Linked DNA regions of Homo sapiens: region 2 is linked to region 1. The links are contacts of gene promoters, found by promoter capture Hi-C in blood cells and fetal thymus (Javierre and others, 2016). All regions are on one chromosome and are shown on one strand. The core of a region is centred on a gene start or on the middle of the fragment in contact, and the rest is flanking DNA. Distances in the headings are between cores, read along the strand shown. Region 1 holds the start of ADAM11 (ADAM metallopeptidase domain 11). Region 2 overlaps EFTUD2 (elongation factor Tu GTP binding domain containing 2).

Region 1 (4,942 bases), core at 2,224-4,723:
ATACAAAAATTAGCCAGGCGTGGTGGTGCACACCTGTAATCCCAGCTACTTGGGAGGCTGAGGCAGGAGAGTCACTTGAACCCAGGAGAAGGAGATTGCAGTGAGCCGAGATCATGCCACTGCACTCCAGCCTAAGCAACAGAGTGAGACTCCCATCTCAAAAAAAAAAAAAAAAAAAAAAAAAAAGATCGGCTGGGTGCGGTGGGCTCACGCCTGTAATCCCAGCACTTTAGGAGGCCGAGGTGGGTGGATCACCTGAAGTCAGGAGTTCGAGACCAGCCTGACCAACATGGAGAAACCACATCTCTACTAAAAATACAAAATTAGCTGGGCATGGTGGCACATGTCTGTAATCCCAGCTACTCGGGAGGCTGAGGCAGGAGAATTGCTTGAACCTGGGAGGTGGAGGTTGCGGTGAGCCGAGATCATGCCATTGCAACAAGAGCGAAACTCCAGCTGGGGGTGGTGGCTCACCCTGTAATCCCACCAGCACCCTGGGAGGCCGAGGCGGGTGGATCACGAGGTCAGGAGATCGAGACTATCCTGGCTAACACAGTGAAACCCCGTCTCTACTAAAAACACAAAAAAATTAGCTGGGCATGGTGTTGGGCACCTGTAGTCCCAGCTACTCGGGAGACTGAGGCAGGAGAATGGCATGAACCCGGGAGGCGGAGCTTGCAGTGAGCCGAGATGGCGCCACTGCACTCCAGCCTGGGTGACACAGCGAGACTCCATCTCAAAAAAAAAAAAAGAGCGAAACTCAATCTCAAAAAAAAAAAAAAAGAAAGTTCTAGGCCAGGCATGGTGGCTCACACCTGTAATCCTAGCACTTTGGGAGGCAGGCAGATTGCCTGAATTTAGGAGGTTGAGGACAGCCTGGACAACATGGTGAATTTAGGAGGGTGAGAACAGCCCGGGCAACATGGTGAGATCCCATCTCTACTAAAAATACAAAAAATTAGCCAGGTATGGTGACACATGCCTGTTGTCCTAGCTGCTCGGGAGGCTGAGGCAAGAGAATCACTTGACCCCAGAGGTGGAGGTTGAAGTGAGCCGCGATCTTGCCACTTTACTCCAGCCTGGGTGACAGAGCGAGACTCTCCAAAAGAAAAAAAAAAAATAGTAAGTTCTAGCCGGGTGCGGTGGCTCACGCCTGTAATCTCAGCACTTTGGGAGGCCGAGGCGGGTGGATCACGAGGCCAGGAGATCGAGACCATGCTGGCTAACATGTGAAACCCCGTCGCTACTAAAAATACAAAAAAAAAAAAAAAATAGCTGGGCGTGGTGGCGAGCACCTGTAGTCCCAACTATTCAGGAGGCTGAGGCAGGAGAATGGCGTGAACCCGGGAGGCGGAGCTTGCAGTGAGCCGAGATCGTGCCACTGCACTCCAGCCTGGGCGACAGAGCCAGACTCTGTCTCAAAAAAAAAAAAAAAAAAAAAGTAAGTTCTAGCCAGATCTGCTGGGAGCCGGGGAACCCAGGAATATAAGTGGCTATGGGGGCCAGGGAGCCATATGACCGAGTCTCCACTGGAACTAGCCCAGGGTGCCACCAGGGAGAGTCACTCTTAGGGCTCATCAGGTCTCCCCAACAGGAAGTCTAGGGTCCCAGGGCCACCGATGTGGTAGGAACATGCCTCTGGTGAAGAGGCCTGGACCACAGATTGGGCTTGCTCTGTGGTCTTGAACATGTTGGAGGACCCAGACTCTCCCAGCCCCGGGCTCGCACTGTGAAATGACAAACCTCACCCAGCCTACTGGGGGGCACTCCTGATCGGGACTTGCTGATGTGGCCCTGGGACATGGGCAGGCTGGAGCAGGACAGCCACCTTCGTGTCTGGGGTGTGTGGTGAGGGTGCATGGGACCAGATATACCAGTCCCCTCTGGTCCCAAATGGAGGGCAGAGATGGAAGTAGGACTAGGGGTGGCTAAGAGGAGTGGGGCCATGGAGTATGGGATGTGCCTTTCACCAGCTGTGTGACTTTGAGAAGCTCACATAACCTCTCAGAGCCTCAGTTTCCCCATCTGTAAAATGGGGAGCACAATCTCTCCCTCTGGGCTCATGATGAGTTTCCAGGAATACCACCTAGTAGGCCCTCATTCCCAGGAGCCTCCTCATGCCTACATCTTGGAGGAGGTTCTCAAGATGTCTCCAGAGCGAAGGAAGAATTGGCTCAGCCTTACTGAGCATCTGGGCCTGGCATGGCAGGTGGTTGGGGGTGGGGGGAGTCACTTGGTTCCCTACATTGATGTCAGCGCCTCCTGGGAAATCGCCTTCTCACCTCTCCTGGGCCTAAAATAGAGCGGGGGGTGGGGGTGTCACAAGCTAGAGGCAGTTCCCTCATCCCCAGCAGAGGCCCTGGGTCCTTGCGGAAGCAGAGGACCCAGGAAGGGGTTTCCTGCCTCCAATCTTGTTCTTCAGCAACCTGTGGTCCCCTAGCATGGGTACCAAAAAGGTCAGGGTGGGGACTCAGCGGCCCACCCACCATGCCCTACCACACCCCACACCATCTCAGGTATCTGGCCTTCAGCACCCCTAGCAGAAGTCTGAGGTCCCAGCCCTGGTATTGGGACCCAACATCCCCAGGAGCTGGGTGGAGGGCACAGCTGGGAATGTAGGTTGGGAGGTCAAGTATTTTGCAGACAGGGCAGCCTAGTCTGACCAGAGAGGGAATGCTGGGGGGCTCCAGAGGTGTCTTCTGCTCCTAAGGATTGGGACTAGCAAGGGAGGGGGAGCCATGGGGCATGCTAGCAGCATATAAGTGACCTGGCTAGTTTATATTTTATCTAGGAGGAAGGACAGGACGCCTGTGAGAGACTCAGGAACCCAGACGGACATGCCAGCCCTTCCTGATGGTTGGAGTGACAGCGATCCCTGAAGCCCTCCTGGAGGCCGGGGCATCTTTGGCGGGGAGAAGGAGCCGATGGGAAGGGGTCTGTACCGCGGGCGTGAGAGGACTCCGCAGTGACACGACCCGTAGCGAAGGTGCAAGAAATCCCAGAGGCGTAGAGCCCGGCGTTCGCCAAGAGCCTTTGCCCACCCCAACCCCAGCTTCCACAGCCTGGGGTCAAGCGGGGCGCTCCAAGCTGGGGCTGGGGCAGCCTCTCTGGGGTACCACGACAGAGGGGCGAACGTGGGCGCCGCAGCCACGCCCCTGCCCCCGGGCCCCAGACAGGCAGTCGCCGGGTCGACCCCGGGGGTACCCCGTCCCCTGCTTCCCTCCCCTACAAATCTACGAGTCCTCGGAGATGCTCAGGCAGAGGTGGCCGAGGAGAGGCCGCGGGATAAGTACGCGGAGCGCCACCGCCCCGCACCTGCCGAGGAGACTTCGAGGTGCGAGGAGGGACCCCGGGGCGGCGCCTCTTTTGTCCTGCCGCGGCGGCGGCCCGGGCCCTGCGGGGCTGGGGGGGCCGGGGGGCGGCGGGAGAGCGGAGGGCGGGCCCTGGGCTCACGTGCTCGCTGCTCAGCTCTTAACCCGGCCCCGCCGCCCCGCCGGGATGGCCGCGGCCGGAGCGCGCTGAGCCCCGGCGCCGTCCCTGCCGCCCCCACCTCTCCGCGACCCCCGCCCGGCCCCGCGCCCCCGCCCCGGCTCCGCAGCTGGCGCCTCCCCACCCCCGTCCCTGCTCCCGCCCTCCCCGCGCCGCTGGCAGCCGCAGCCCCCGGACCGGGAGGAATGAGCGAGCCATGAGGCTGCTGCGGCGCTGGGCGTTCGCGGCTCTGCTGCTGTCGCTGCTCCCCACGCCCGGTGAGTGACCCCCGCCCGGCCCCGGCGCCCCCTCCCTGCCCCCGCCCCGGGATGTGCGGCGCTTGCTGCTGCAGCCACCTTTTCCTGCAGTGCTCGGGGTGACAGCCGGTCCGGAGCGCGGGAGGGTAGGGGAGCGGGAGAGGAGGGAAGGTGCGTCCACCCACCTGTCCCCAGCTGGCCGGGCCCACCGCGTCCCTGCCCCTGCCGCCGACCGGCCAGCTCTGCAGGTCTCTGCGGGTTTGGGCGGATGGGGGGGCAGTCGTGACGGTTGGGCGGGAGTGAAGCTCCTGGCCCCCTCCCCGCGGGCTCTTGCCTCTGCAGGGCAGCCAGATCCTCCCACCCGGATCGCCCTAGGGCTCCAGGGGCCACACCAGAGTGGGGGATGAGGCATGCCCACCCCATTCCCAAGTCTTCTGCCCCAGGGTGGGCAGCTGCCTGCAGCCATGGCCTTGTTTCCCCAGGTCTTGGGACCCAAGGTCCTGCTGGAGCTCTGCGATGGGGGGGCTTACCCCAGCTGGGAGGCCCAGGAGCCCCTGAGGTCACGGAACCCAGCCGTCTGGTTAGGGAGAGCTCCGGGGGAGAGGTCCGAAAGCAGCAGCTGGACACAAGGGTCCGCCAGGAGCCACCAGGGGGCCCGGTGAGTGGGGCTGGGTGGTGAGGCCAGGGGCTGAAGCAGGCCTCAGAGCCCCAGGAAGCCCACGGGGTAACCAGGGTTGGAGTCCCCCTCAGCAGCTGCCCCGCAGGGTCCCCTTCTGTACAGTGGGCTATCCGGTGGGTGCTGGAGCCCACTGGTGGGGAGCACCAGGCCTGCCCAGCCCCAGGGCCCCCTTCCATTATTGTAGGGTCCCCTGCCCTCAGTGTACAGGGACCACTAATGCCTAGGTCTCAGGTCTGCTTTGGGTCAGCCTTCCAATGGCCCCCTGCTCTGCTCTGGCCAAAGCTAGTTGTTCTGTTCAAAACAGGGCTTGGATGGGGCAAGTTGGGGGCAGGGAGAGGCAGCCCAGATTCCAGTCAGGGATTAGGGCTCTCAGGTTCTCACCACAGCCACCTTAGTGGGCTTTCTTGGAACAACTTAGTGCTTGCTCCTGCCTCAGTTTCCACACAGTGCCCAGATAGGCTTGTTGTTCTTCCTGTCCTGGCTGAAGGTGGGGCCTTGGAAAATAACTTGAGGCCCCAAGCCAGCTCTACCTGCCTGC
Region 2 (4,908 bases), core at 376-2,875, 120 kb after region 1:
AGCCAGGTGTGGTGGCAGGCGCCTGTAGTCCCAGCTGCCTGGGAGGCTGAGGCAGGAGAATCACTTGAACCTGGGAGGCAGAGGTTGCAGTGAGCCAAGATTGCGCCACTGCACTCCAGCCTGGGCGGAAGAGCAAGACTCCATCTCAAAAAAACAAAACAACAACAACAACAACAACAACAAACAACAATGGCTGGAAGCGGTGGCTCACGCCTGTAATCTCCACACTTTGGGAGGCCTAGGTGGGCAGATCACTTGAGGTCAGGAGTTCGAGACCAGCCTGGCCAACATGGTGAATGAAACCCTGTCTCTACTAAAAATACAAAAATTATCCAGGTGTGGTGGCGTGCACCTGTAATCTCAGCTATTTGGGAGGCTGAGACAGGAGAATTGCTTGAACCCAAAAGGCAGAGGTTGCAGTAAACTGAGATCGCACCACTTCACTCCAGCCTGGGCAACAGAGCAAGACTCCATCTCAAAACCAAAACAAAACAGAAGGAATAAGAAGAGTTAGAAGACTCACTATTTGCAACTATTGTAGGAACAAGCCAAGAATCATCAATAGATGACAAAACTAGTAGATAAAGTTTGATAAGGAGAAGAATAACCAGATTCTAATAACCAGAGCTTAATCACGAGGAAGTATTAGACAAACCCAAATTGAAAGACATTCTACAAAATAAGTGCCCTGTACTCTTCAAAAGTGTCAATGTCATAAAAGACCAAGAGAGGCTAAAGAACAGCTTCAATTCAGAGAGACTTGAAAATCATGAAAACTAAATGTTATGCATCACTCTGGATTAGGGGAAAAAATTCTATAACGGAAATTGTTGGTATGATTAATAAAACTGAATAAGGTCTGCAAAAAAAGATCTGTACAACAGGACTGTATCAATGTCAAATTTTCTGATTTTGGCAACTGTACTGTGGTTACATAGGTGAATGTCCTTATTCTTAGAAAATACATTCTGAAATATTTTACTTTCAAACAGTTCAAGGGGAAAATGTACACACCTGTCTCTCTGTGTGTGTCTGAACGTGTACAGAGAGAGAATTACGAAGTAAATGAGGGTGGGTTCTTTGAACAATTCTTGAAGCTTTTCAGTTTGCTGCTATTCCAAAATGAAAAGTCAGTTTAAAAAAAGACAATTCTGGCTCCCTCTGCTGGCTGTCTCACCAATGATAACACGAATAAGGTTAGCCAAAGTGTTCCATCTCTCAATTGAGGAATACAGAAGACACCCTGGTATTTTAACTCCAATCTCTTGGAAAAACACAACTAATATTAAAAATCCACTTACAAGAACATACACTCCTCCCTTCCTTTTATTTACATTTGTCATTTTATCTTTGTGTTTTCTGAATAGCAATGAGTCTTATCATTTTGAGCTTCACTGAGCAGGAAGCAAGGGCACCCACATTGATAATTTTTTTCTTCGTTTTTTGAGAGAATGTCTCACTCTAGCACCCAGGCTGGAGTGAAGTGGCGCAATCTCGGCTCACTGCAACCTCCAACTCCCAGGCTCAAGTGATTCTCCTGTTTCAGCCTAATGAGTAGCTGGGATTACAGGCATGGGTCACCACACCTGGCTAATTTTTGTATTTTTGGTAGAGACGGGGTTTCGCCACGTTGGCCAGGCTGGTCTCGAACTCCTGACCTCAGGTGATCCACCCACCTCAGCCTCCCAAAGTGCTGGGATTACAGGTGTGAGCAACCACACCCGGTAAGAATTAATTTTGAAACATTTGCTGCTTTAATTTTAGAGCAAATTTGAGCCTTAATCCCAGAGAGTTTCAAGTTCTCTGGCTCCCAGCTCACTCAGTGCTCTGGGTATTGTTGCGGGGTGGGGGCAAACATAACAGGTGGATGAGATTCTGGGAGCTGAGTCTGACTCACCCCCTCAGCAGCATCAATGAAAAGGACCACTCCATCTGAGATGCGCAAGCCAGCTGTGACCTCATCAGAGAAATTCACATGTCCTGAAAAGCAAATACTAAGTAAGTCATCACTTGGTGCAGGATAAAGCACAATTAACTGGTAGGGTGAACTGAGGGGGCACTTCAAAGCCCGTGAACCTCCGAATATCCCCTTTCCTCCTCGCCATAACCCCCCACAGGGTAAAAATATCCCCCATTAGTGTCATATCCTTGCATTAAGCTTTCCTACGGGAGGCTCCCTACATAAAAAGAGGGACTCCTGGGACTCATGCCCAGGAGAGCATGAGTCCACACACACAGACCAGCTTAGCCTAATCAGCAGTAAGTAGAGTTCTGTGGGATTCAAGACAATCTGGAGGCAGGAGAAAGGGCAAAGCAGGGCCTGGAGCACAGTGTGCTGCTCGAGGAAGGCAGTTCCTGGCAAGGTGCTATGGGGGCAGGGGCTGAGAGGTATCAGGACACTGGGCATCAGATGGTGCCAAGAAAGCAAATCAGCCAAAACCTAAAACCTTCCAGTTTTTAAAAACTCTGCCCCAGTTGGTCCTTTCCATAGGAGGAAGAGTCAGCCAAGGTGCGCTGCTCCCAAGGTCATCAGGATGTTCACCAGTCTCCTTCAAAAGACTGAGAGTACTCAAGGCCAGGGACTGGCTCTGACTCACCTTTAGCTCCCCAGCAGATAGCATGGGGCCTGACAGGCTGAAATGAATAAATGAATACAATTCCCTAACATTTTTAAATATTCGAAAGAGTAAAGACATGAATAGAAGGCCTGGAGTATGATGCTTGCTAAATTAACAAGTCAGAAACAAAGGAGAGAGTCAAAATGGAAAATGGTTTCAATGAAGGTGAGGGAATGTAAAAACAAAGATGCACTGCTCCGTTCTGCTCCGAAAAGTGAGAGGACACACGCAAAACCAAGACAAGGTTCTAATAATCAAAAGCCAAAGGATGTCCTACCTGGAGTGTCCATGATATTGAAGAGATAAGATTTTCCTTTGGTGTCTGGCAAGACCACTGTCACAGGAGTGCTTTTGATGCCTACACCTCTCTGAAAGGAACAAAGAGTGGTCAAGACCTCTTCCTATGCAAGAGGGGTTCATTTTGTTTTTGGGGCTCCCCAGTTGCTAGTAAATTACACTGATGCCTCTCCTTATAGTGGGTGATTTTTATCTAGGCCTCTAGCCAGCATGACCTTGAAGATAAAATATCTTGGTGTTAGACACCATTTTTGGGGGACTTGTTTCAAATGTGAAAAGATGAAAATGAATTACTGCAAACAAAACAGTATTAAGCCTTATCAGAGAATCCAGGGTCCTAGAATCTCATCCTCTTTATACATTAGAAACAAAAACAATAGCTGAGCACCTTGAAAGTAAAAAGAAACAATCTGGGGTATTTTAGTTTTTTTTTAAAAAAGAAATATAAAAGCTATGACAGAAATAAACATTTTTTTTAAAACTCCAAACAAATACATAAATACATTATAAAATAATAACAGCTAACATTGATTGCCTATCTATCTTTACTAATTCCAAGTGCCTTTAGTTAACCATACTTATTATACTTAAAACTTCCATTAGGAAAAAGAGACAGAAATAAGAGGAGGGAAACAGAAGGGGTCAGAGATTAGAGAGAAAGATCCGGAAGGAAAGACAAAAAGAGAAACACAAAGATATAGGAACCCATTTTCAAAGAGAAGCTACTCCTAGAAAGAGGTCATCATATGGATGGACTCATCCTGCGGATTTTTAAAGGATGATGTCATTTTAAAAAAATCATGTTGAGCTTCTGCGTAACTTATAGCACAAATGCAGACATCGCCTCTTAGTACTTCTCCTATATTAGGCCAAATTTAATCTAGTCAAGAACAGGAGGGTTCCCCTCCTAACCTACAGCTTGCCTACCCAGTTCTTTTTCAAGTTATAACCCTGGAGTAACTGGGGGAAGAAGGAGATGGGATGTGAGAAGTGGAGAGAGAGGAGTAGGATATGAACTAAAATGCTATCATAAAGGCTCCTCTACATTCCCTACAAAACTATTACTGGTGGGTCTGGTGTAGGTGACAATCAGATTCCCCAAGGCATGCTTACCTCTTGCTCTGTGAAGAGGATGTCAGTATAGCACAGCTGAAAAAAAATTAACTGTTGTTACCACCTGAGTTGAGACTGCTCTCCCACAAACGAACCATCAATCACTTTCCCTCACTACCTCCCAGCTCAAGGGTTTCTTTGAGATTAAAGAGAGAGAGAGAGCAGGGTGTCCCCACAGCAATTACAGACAATGAGACCAGTGCCCTCCCAGCTGGAAATGCTCCTGGGTGTGTGGAGGGATTTTTTTATTTTTACTTTTTTGGAGACAGAGTTTTGCTCTTGTAGCCCAGGCTGGAGTGCAATGGCGCGATCTCAGCTTACTGCAACCTCCTTTGCCTCCAGGGTTTAAGAGATTCTCCTGCCTCAGCCTCCCAAGTAGCAGGGATTGCAGACGTGCGCCACCATGCTCAGCTAATTTTGTATTTTCGGTAGACACAGGGTTTCATCATGTTGGTCAGGCTGGTCTCGAACTCCTGACCTCATGTGATCCCCCCGGCTCAGCCTCCCAAAGTGCTGGGATTACAGGCGTGAGCCACCACACATGGCTGGGTTTTTCTTTTTGGTTGTGATTTTGTCTTTTTTTGAGATGGAGTCTCACTCAGTCGCCCAGACTAGAGTGTGGTGGCATAATCTTGGCTCACTGCAACCTCTACCACCCAGGTTCAAGCGATTCTCCTGCCTCAGCCCCTTGAGTAGCTGGGACTACAGGTGTGCACCACCGTGCCCACCCAGCTACATTTTGCATTTTTAGTAGAGATAGAGTTTCGCCATGTTGGCCAGGCTGGTCTCAAACTCCTGACCTCAAGTGATGCTCCTGTCCTGGCCTCCCAAAGTACTGGGATTATAGGCATGAGCCACCACTCTTTTTGAGTTGGGGGAG

What was found. The method cuts DNA at HindIII sites, captures the fragments that hold promoters and counts their contacts. A CHiCAGO score of 5 or more calls a contact.
Region 2: a fragment that was not itself captured here is called in contact with the fragment with the promoter of ADAM11 in region 1 in 1 of 17 cell types (endothelial precursors); the score reaches 5.5 in endothelial precursors.

What each region holds. Positions count from the first base shown.
Region 1 is chr17:44,755,515-44,760,456 of GRCh38, forward strand. ADAM11 (ADAM metallopeptidase domain 11) reads left to right here and starts at 3,474. Exons shown (of 27, transcript NM_002390.6): 1 at 3,474-3,746; 2 at 4,208-4,383. The coding sequence starts at 3,686. RefSeq lists an enhancer at 3,115-3,666. The HindIII fragment of the contact is 6,513 bases long and covers 1-4,942 here.
Region 2 is chr17:44,877,659-44,882,566 of GRCh38, forward strand. EFTUD2 (elongation factor Tu GTP binding domain containing 2) reads right to left here. Exons shown (of 28, transcript NM_004247.4): 7 at 4,029-4,064; 8 at 2,896-2,986; 9 at 1,898-1,980. Among named protein-coding and RNA genes, the nearest start is that of EFTUD2, 19 kb to the right of the region's middle. The HindIII fragment of the contact is 1,061 bases long and covers 1,096-2,156 here.